Regions from separate parts of the Homo sapiens genome. Here region 2 is linked to region 1. Evidence: promoter capture Hi-C in human tissues and cell types (Jung and others, 2019). All regions are on one chromosome and are shown on one strand. The core of a region is centred on a gene start or on the middle of the fragment in contact, and the rest is flanking DNA. Distances in the headings are between cores, read along the strand shown. Region 1 holds the start of RTP4 (receptor transporter protein 4). Region 2 has its middle 14 kb from the start of RTP1.

What was found. The method cuts DNA at HindIII sites, captures the fragments that hold promoters and counts their contacts. A contact is called where the count stands out against the background at its distance.
Region 2: a fragment that was not itself captured here is called in contact with the fragment with the promoter of RTP4 in region 1 in 1 of the 25 tissues and cell types used here (aorta).

Annotation. Positions count from the first base shown.
Region 1 is chr3:187,365,829-187,370,120 of GRCh38, forward strand. RTP4 (receptor transporter protein 4) reads left to right here and starts at 2,557. Exons shown (of 2, transcript NM_022147.3): 1 at 2,557-2,768. The coding sequence starts at 2,614. RefSeq lists an enhancer at 2,418-2,767. The HindIII fragment of the contact is 7,845 bases long and covers 1-4,292 here.
Region 2 is chr3:187,209,377-187,213,668 of GRCh38, forward strand. No RefSeq gene overlaps it. Among named protein-coding and RNA genes, the nearest start is that of RTP1, 14 kb to the left of the region's middle. The HindIII fragment of the contact is 6,887 bases long and covers 1-4,292 here.

The sequences.
Region 1 (4,292 bases), core at 1,307-3,806:
GGCTGACTTTGTAATTTTTAAAGTAGAGATGGGGTTTCATCATGTTGGTCAGGTGGTCTCAAACTCCTGACCTCAAGTGATCTACCCTCCTTGGCCTCCCGAAGTGCTGAGATCACAGGCGTGAGCCACGGTGCCCAGCCTCAGTTTTCTCGTGTATAAAAATTAAAGGGAAAAGGGATAAGTTGATTTCTAAGGGTTTTCCCAACTCTAACATCCTGTGGATCCAATTACAAGTTCTTAGAGCTTCCTATATCATGTGTATAGACACAGGTATCCAGGAAGGGAAGGAAAGAGAGAGGGTGTCTCTGAGTCGCTGACAGGGCACATGGAAGCCTAGAAAACCCAGGAAGACTGAGGCTGATCCTGTCTCAGACACAGAAGCTGTAGCGGGTGTTCTAAAGACCTAAGTAAGCATCCTGCTTGTCCTATCTCCCCTATTTGAATTTAAGCCCCAGGAGGACAAAGCTTACTCTCTGGAATCTCCGCGTTTTAGACTTACAAGTGTCTTTAAAGGTCATCTCATCTCAATCCCTTACCCCAAAATGGGAATTCTCTGTATCCTACCACTGAAAGACGGCCCCCACACCTGTGCGTATTTGCCCTTCCACATAATTTACAGAGTGGAGGGCAGAGTTTGATAATCCCTTCATGCAGCTGACCTCCTGCCTCAGGACCCAGGAAATCTCCCTACGGTTCCTCTGACACTGGCTCCAGTGTGCCAGCCTGGAACCTGAAATGCCATTCTCAGCTTCTCTTCAGGGAGTGAGGTGGGCGGACACATGGCAGGTTTTGGAGTCACACAGACCCGGGTTCAAGTCTCACTTCCACTGCTCGTTAACTGAGGGGATTTGGACAAAGTACCCCAGCTTTCTGTGCAGTTAACCTGCAAAACTCCAAGAATAATCCTTCGCGGGACTGGTGAGGATACATGGGGTGTAGGAGATGAGCATTAAACACGTGCTCCCCTACGCTGCTCCTAACCTCCCTGTCTCCACCTGGGTGTGAGCATCTGTGGGGGCAGGAATTGTTTCTTAGCTACAGGATACTCTTTTCCCAGTGCCAAAAACAGTGCTTTTGTGTCCGGAATTGGTGGGTTCTTGGTCTCACTGACTTCAAAAATGAAGCCACCGACCCTCATGGTGAGTGTTACAGCTCATAAAGGCACAGTGCCCAGAGTTTGTTCCTTCTGATGTTCGGATGTGTTCTGAGTTTCTTCCTTCTGGTGGGTTTATTGTCTTGCTGGCTCAAGAGTGAAGCTGCAGACCTTCCGGGTGAGTGTTAACAGCTGATAAAGGCAGAGCAGACCCAAACACTGCGCAGCAGCAAGATTCATTGCAAAAACCAAAAGAACAAATCTTCCACCACGTGGAAGGGGACCCGAGCCGGTTGTCAGTGCTGGCTGGGGCAGCCTGCTTTTATTCTCTTATCTGGCCCCACCCACATCCTGCAGATTGGTCCATTTTACAGAGAGCCAATTGGTCTGTTTTACAGAGAGCTGATTGGTCCGTTTTGACAGGGTGCTGATTGGTGCATCCACAAACCCTGAGCTAGACACAGGGTGCTGATTGGTGCATTTACAAACCTTGAGCTAGATACAGAGTGCCCATTGGTGTATTCACAATCCCTTAGCTAGACATAAAGGTTCTCCAAGTCCCCACTAGACTCAGGAGCCCAGCTGGCTTCACCCAGTGGATCCCGCCCCGGGGGCAGCAGGTGGAGCTGCCTGCCAGTCCTGCGTGTGTGCCCGCACTTCTCTGCCCTTGGGCGGTCGATGGGACCAGGCACCATGGAGCAGGGGGTGGCACTCGTCGGGGAGGCTTGGGCCATGCAGGAGCCCAGGGTGGGGAGACTCAGGCATGGCGGGCTGCAGGTCCCGAGCCCTGCCCCACAGAGAGGCAGCTAAGGCCCAGCGAGAAATCGAGCTCAGTGCCGGTGGGCCGGCACTGCTGGGGGACCTGGCGCACCCTCCGCAGCTGCTGGCCCAGGTGCTAAGCACTTCACTGCCCAGGGCTGGGGGCCTGCCGGCCGCTCCGAGTGCAGGGCCCGCCAAGCCCACGCCCACCCAGAACTCTAGCTGGCCTGCAAGCCCTGCATGCAGCCCCGGTTCCTGCCCGTGCCTCTCCCTCCACATCTCCCAGCAGGCTGAGGGAGCCGGTTCTGGCTTTGGCCTACCCAGGAAGGGGCTCCCACAGTGCAGTGGCTGGCTGAAGGGCTCCTCCAGCGCGGCCAGAGTGGGCACCGAGGCCGAGGAGGCTCCGAGAGCGAGCGAGGGCTGCGAGGGCTACCAGCATGCTGTCACCTCTCACTTTGCCTATTATAAAAAATGAGAGAGAGAAAATAAAAGCGAATTTATATGTGACCCCAGAATCTAGAACAGAGCTCTTTATCTCTCTCTCAGCAAGGCCTATTAACTAACACAGTTTTGCTGCTGTCTGTTTTCAGAACAAAGACTTGTTCTGTGTACTCAGACAGTCTAAAATGAAGGTTGAAAAAAACAGCTCATGTCCATACACAGAAACAGAAACTGAACCGAACACCGAAACTGAAACTGTTTGTCTCTTCCTGAGAAACGAGCAAACCTGAAAGCTACTCTCTCAGCTTCAGAGGGAAAAAATGGTTGTAGATTTCTGGACTTGGGAGCAGACATTTCAAGAACTAATCCAAGAGGCAAAACCCCGGGCCACATGGACGCTGAAGTTGGATGGCAACCTTCAGCTAGACTGCCTGGCTCAAGGGTGGAAGCAATACCAACAGAGAGCATTTGGCTGGTGAGTGTGGGTTTCCCAGGCAATAGCTCTTCTGAGAAGAGAGGCTCAGGCTCAGCTTAGCATGATTTATTCCTCTGAGAGCTTGTTGAAGGAGTAAATGTCACCAGGGCCTCCATCCTATTGTGGTCATAGTACTCTTTAGGGTCGACATGATAAGACGACTCCAAACCTCCATTTTGTTTAACTGCTGGAAGTTTCTTCTTTTACTAGGTTTCCCTCCGTAAATATTTCTGGAAAACCCTGGAGAAGGCTCCCTATTCCATAAATTTTCCCTTCTAGTTTCTCACCACGTCATTTGTTCCAGACTACCTCTAGAGTCTTTTGCAGTCTCCCCAGCAGTCCTGACCAGCTTCCCCCAGCTGCACCAGCTCTCCAAGCCTTGGCACTGTTCAGTACAAGCCTGGGACGGAGCCTTTTTTTTTTTTTTAAATATCTTAAGAATTGGCTAAGATCAAGCAGTTACTCTGAACATTGCTTTACTGAAGGCCTGGGGATAATAGTATAGAATGATGTTGCAAAAACTAAATCTAAAACCCAGTTCATGGAGTCACCAAGTAATACTCCTCCCTTACTCACCACTTCCCTCTTTAACCCCCAGCAAGCCTCCAGGTTGCAGGAACCAGTTTCCTTGACCATGTTAGGAGGGTGAGAATTGCTGACCTGGATAATCAAATTTATTTTTAAATGACACACAGGACCTTCGGTATAGTTTTCATCTGACCTATTACTCAGCTTGCCTGCCTGCCCCATCCTGCCTCAGGTATGGCCTACTCCATTCCTTATGGACTATTAGCTATGCCATGCATCTTCAGACTTCCACACTCTTGTTCATGGAGTTCTGCTTGTTCAGCAGACCCTCCCCTCACCCCTCCCTGCTCATCCTTCAAGGCCCACTCTAGTGCCTCCTCCTCCTAAAAGCATTCTCTGGTTCTCCTAGGCAGAGTAAGTATTCCTTCGTATACATTCCCATAAGATAATGGGATAAGATAAAATATATATGTATATGTATACATAAATGATATATAATTATATATACATATGTACTATGTATTTCAGAATAATAAATTTATAAATAATATATGTATTATTATATATTGTATCAAATACAGTATATGCTTATTTTTAGCTGCAGAATCTGTTGTTTAAATAAAGCCTCCTAAACGTCTCCAGAACAGTTCTCAAGTCACTTGTCAGAGCCCGTATAGCAGTCATGTTGCTCTGCTTTCTAATCCAGGGAAATGTGTAAATATTTCTGTCCACACCAGCCAGAGCTTTTTGAGGGACTCATGATGTCTTACAACGTTTTGGCACTCCTCCAAACAGAAAGAAGGTGTTTCTCCTGTTGGGATGATTTGATTTGATTGTCATTTCGAGATCGGAAAAGCAACCTACCAGTGTACTTTTGGAAAATATCAATCAGCTTTTGAAAAGCATTTTGTAGTTTACAAAGTGTTTTCACATACATCGTCTCTTTTGATGCTGCCAATATAACCCTTGAATTTTTTTTTTATGGATTCAAACAAT
Region 2 (4,292 bases), core at 531-3,030, 160 kb before region 1:
TTCAAAAATGACAAAATGTGGTGAGAGTGTGGGAGTAACTAACCCCGGGGCCTACTGTCAGGTGATGGTAGAGCAAAGCATCCAAGTCTCACCTAGTTTTAGTCCAGAACTGTTTCCCAAGACTCTTCCTGATCTGCTAGGAAGATGTTTCAATCTAAGGAGGCCTCACCTGCCTCTCTTACTGCCTCTTATACTTGCTGCAGATGGGGAATTCTGGGTTTGCTCATGGGCTTTGCTTCTGTCTTGGCAAAGATTTCTCTGTGATAGTTCTTTCTTTGCACACATTGCCACATGCCACATAATGAACTTGTTAGATGTATCTTATGTGTTATAAATAAACTCCTCAGGGAAATTCCTGGATCCTGGGCCTCTCCCACTGGAGCTTTTGTTTGCTTGTCTTGATGTTCAAGCCAGGAAGAGAACTACAAGCACTGAATTATAGTTCCAGAGGCTGAAATTCTTGGTGTAGGGTTGAGAAAAATTGTTATCTCTATTGCTTTCCTCATGCCCATCTTGACAGAGGACCAGCTCAATGGGAGGATTCCTTCTGGGGTTCAGGAGCCCTGAGAACTGAGAGGACTGCCAAGGAAGGAATATGTCCGACATAGTAAGTCCATAGACTATCAGAGCTATAAGACAAATTAGAGATGCTTTGAGCTAGGGCCCTTATTTTGCAGATGAGAAATTGAAGCCCAGAGAAATTAGGAAACTTGACTAGCATTGTATATCATGGGGTAAGAGAAGATCATGAAATTTGGGGTCAGAAAACACTTGAGTGCTGGTTCTGCTACTTACCAGCTCTGTAACCTCAAGCAAGCCTCATTTTCCTCCTCATCAAAATGGAAATAATCCTATCTGCCTTGGAGGGCTATTGCCAGGAATAAAGAATACTCTGTCTACGATAATGCCTGCTATAGGGCACATGCTCACTGAATGCTCATGCTCTTCTTTCATCCTCTTTCCCTTCTAATTTGCAGCTTCCTCTTTGAGTCCTGAAAGGCTCTTCCTTCTCTATGATTTCAGTTAAGCTTGGTTGGTAAATACTTAAAAAAAAAAAAAAAAAGGCAAGGGTTAATTTTGCAGCTTTGAAATGGTTTATTTATTAACTGTAGAGTTATTTATTTTCTTCCCTCATATTTATTTCAAAGCAATGATTTCATTTTTCCAGAAGCACGATGGTCACTCTTCATTCTTCAAAGATAGCTGTTTAAAAACATCTCTTTAAACAGAAAACACCAGTAATTTTCTGGGCTCCCTTCCCATTGGCTGGAATACTCCAGAGGAATTTAGTTCTTTTCCAAGTCCCATTCTGGTTCTCTGTGGGACTCCTAGCTAAGGAATTTCCTTTGGAGTCATTTTTGGCATTGCTTGGGTACTGCCACATGCACCAGGGAAATGAAATCCGCCTGTTATATGACTATGCTGTTACAGAGTCCTGTAGAGGTGGTTGCATTAGTGGTTGTGGTATAGAAGAGCTCATTGGCCTTGGAGTCAGAAAACCTTGGTTTCAGACCTGGTTTAACCATTATCTAGGCTGCTGGCCTTGGGCGACGTAGTCTTTCCTCTCCCCTAGATATCAGTTTCCTTATTTGTAAAGCAATCAGATAAAGTGCCCGAAGGGTCTCTGCCAGCTTTGACCTTAATCACAAACTGCTACTTAGCCCTATTTTGGGGAAGGAGGGGAATTTGGAATGGTGTCCTAACCCTGACCCTTCCAACAGGTCATCTGATTGTTACCCCAGGATTTCAGTCTGCCTAGGTTGATTTGGTGTTTGACCCTCTTATCTGAAACCTTCATAACATCTTTCTTTCCCTTTCTTATCTGGAAACAAACATATGTCTTACTCTCTGACTTTTCTCTAAAGGAATTCAAGTTTTTAAAGGCAGTTACCTTGAGAGGTGTTGTTTTATACAAGAACTTGGGTGATAGTGATGAAATTTCCGTCTTTTTCTTATCCTTTCACTTCTTTTAAAACAAGCTCAATAATCCTACATCACCATCTTAATAGGGTCATAATGATATTTACAGAATGTCGTAAAATATTCCCTATTTTCAAGATTCATTCATTTAATGGATGTTTATTGAGTGCATATTATGTGTCAGATATTTTTCTAGGCACTTGGGGATATGGCAGAGAAGAGCTACTAAATTGCTGTTATTGTGGATAGAGGAGCTAGACAATACACAATGTAAGTTGAGATGTGTGGTATATTAGATAGGGTTACATACTAAGAAGAAGAACAAAGTAGGCAAGGGAGATAGGAAAGGTAGGGAATGAAGTTACAATCTAAATTGGGTAGTGAGGGAAGGCCTTACTAAGAGGATGACACTGGGGGAAAAAAAAGATGAAGGAAACAAATAAGAGGAATGGCAGGTGCCAAGGCCCTGAGGCAGGAGCATCCTGAAATGTTCATACATGAGGAGGCTAATGTGTGCAGTAGGACCAGAGTGGTAACGGGGATCAGGTCACTGTCAGAACACTGGTTTTTAATCTGAATTAGATAGGAAGCCACTGGAGAAGTTGAGTGGCAGGGTGATGTTACCCAATTTACTGTCACCCAGTTGATAACAGACCATAGAGATACAAGAATGAAAGAGGAAATATTAGCCAGGAGGCTCCTGCAGTACTCCTTGCAAGAGGCTGTAGTGACCCGTTCCAGGGTGGTAGCAGCTGTGGTTGAGTCTGGATGTACTTTAAAGGTGGAGCTGAGAGGATTTGCTGGTGACTCAGATGTGCAGTATGAGAGAGAGAGGAGTCAAAGACGCCCCAAGATTTTTGGCCTGTGCAACTGGAAGAATGGAGTGTCTACTTTCTGAGATGAGGAAGGCCGTGAGGAACAAATTTTGGGGCAATATGAGGACCTCAGTTTTGGACATGGGCATTCTGTTAGACATTAAACATGAGAAATGCGAAGGTGGCAGTTGAAATATCACGCCTGTGGTTTAGAGGAGGTGCCCAAGCTAGAGATGAAATTGGAGAGCCATCAGCATTTAGGTGGTTTTAAATGTCATAAGCCTAGATGAGATTATTTAGGGAGTGAGGGTAGAGAGGAAAGAAAAGAGGCCAAAGAGCTGAGCCCAGGGAATCCCCATGTAGAGAGGTTGGAAAAATAAGGAGAAACTAACAGGGAGACTGTGGGGACTGAGGCACAGAGAGCAGGATTCCCTGGGGCTTTCAGAGCTTTGGGAGCAGAGTGAGGACTGGAATCCAGGCCTTCACAACCAGGTTCAGAGCTCTGTCTACTGGCCCAAGGCTCCTTCTCTCTCATGGCACCAGCTACTTCTCGTATTGGAATCTTGCTGATGTCCCTTGCATGGGACACATTGTTTCATCGAATCTGAGCAGGAGGTGGATTTTTGTCTCTATTTTTTTTTCAGTGCACTTGAAGTACTTCATAACTTTAAAATGCACTCAAATGAAAAGACTTGGTGGGAGGCCCAGACTGCTATCATGGATTTGGGCGTCAGACATGCAAACTCAGACCAAAGGGAGATGTTGTCAGAGTTGTTAAAAGAAGGATTCTGTTGTCTTGGATCCCACTGGCAGGCCTGGGCCACACATGAGCATTTAACTGGCAGGGATTAAATAAACCAGATGGTCCCAGGCGATGGGCAAGATGGGATAACGTCACAGGACAAATAGCCCAAGGGGAGAAGAGAGTCCTCACTTTCAAACTAGGTCAGCATCTTCTGAGACCACAGGCCTGGTCTACATCTACACTGTGACCTTCGGATCCCCAGGCTTGCTCTGGTTGGTGCTGGCCTGTTGGTATCCATTGGGGTATCATAACCTCTGACTTTGTAGAGGTCTCCTTTGGGACTGAAAGATGCTGGCAGGGAAGACATGTTTTTGCCCATGCTGATCTGTTTGTCATTCAGACACTCACCCTGGGTACCGTCCAGGCCCCACACACCTTCCCATTGTCATCACACTGCTTTATCCTAATACCCCATTCCTCAGAGAAGACTCCCTTGGTGGCTTTGTGATCTGCCTAGGTGTTGAAATGGTCCTGGTTCTTTTTCCTTATTATCAGAAGCTCATTGCTAGGAATTGAGCTTGTGTTTCTGCATTCAAATGACATTTTTCTTTTCTTCTTGAAAAAAAAAATGCCAACACAGGAAATTGTTGCAAAGGCACTGTTTGTCTCCTTCCCTCAAGTTCAGAGAACCCATGGCTTCCTTTCTATGGACAAGTGCTGGTACCAGTGGGTCACAGAAAGACCAGGGACCTGGGAAACGATTTCTGCTTTTGGGTTTTGGTTTCTGCCCTCTTTTCTCTCTACTTCTCTAC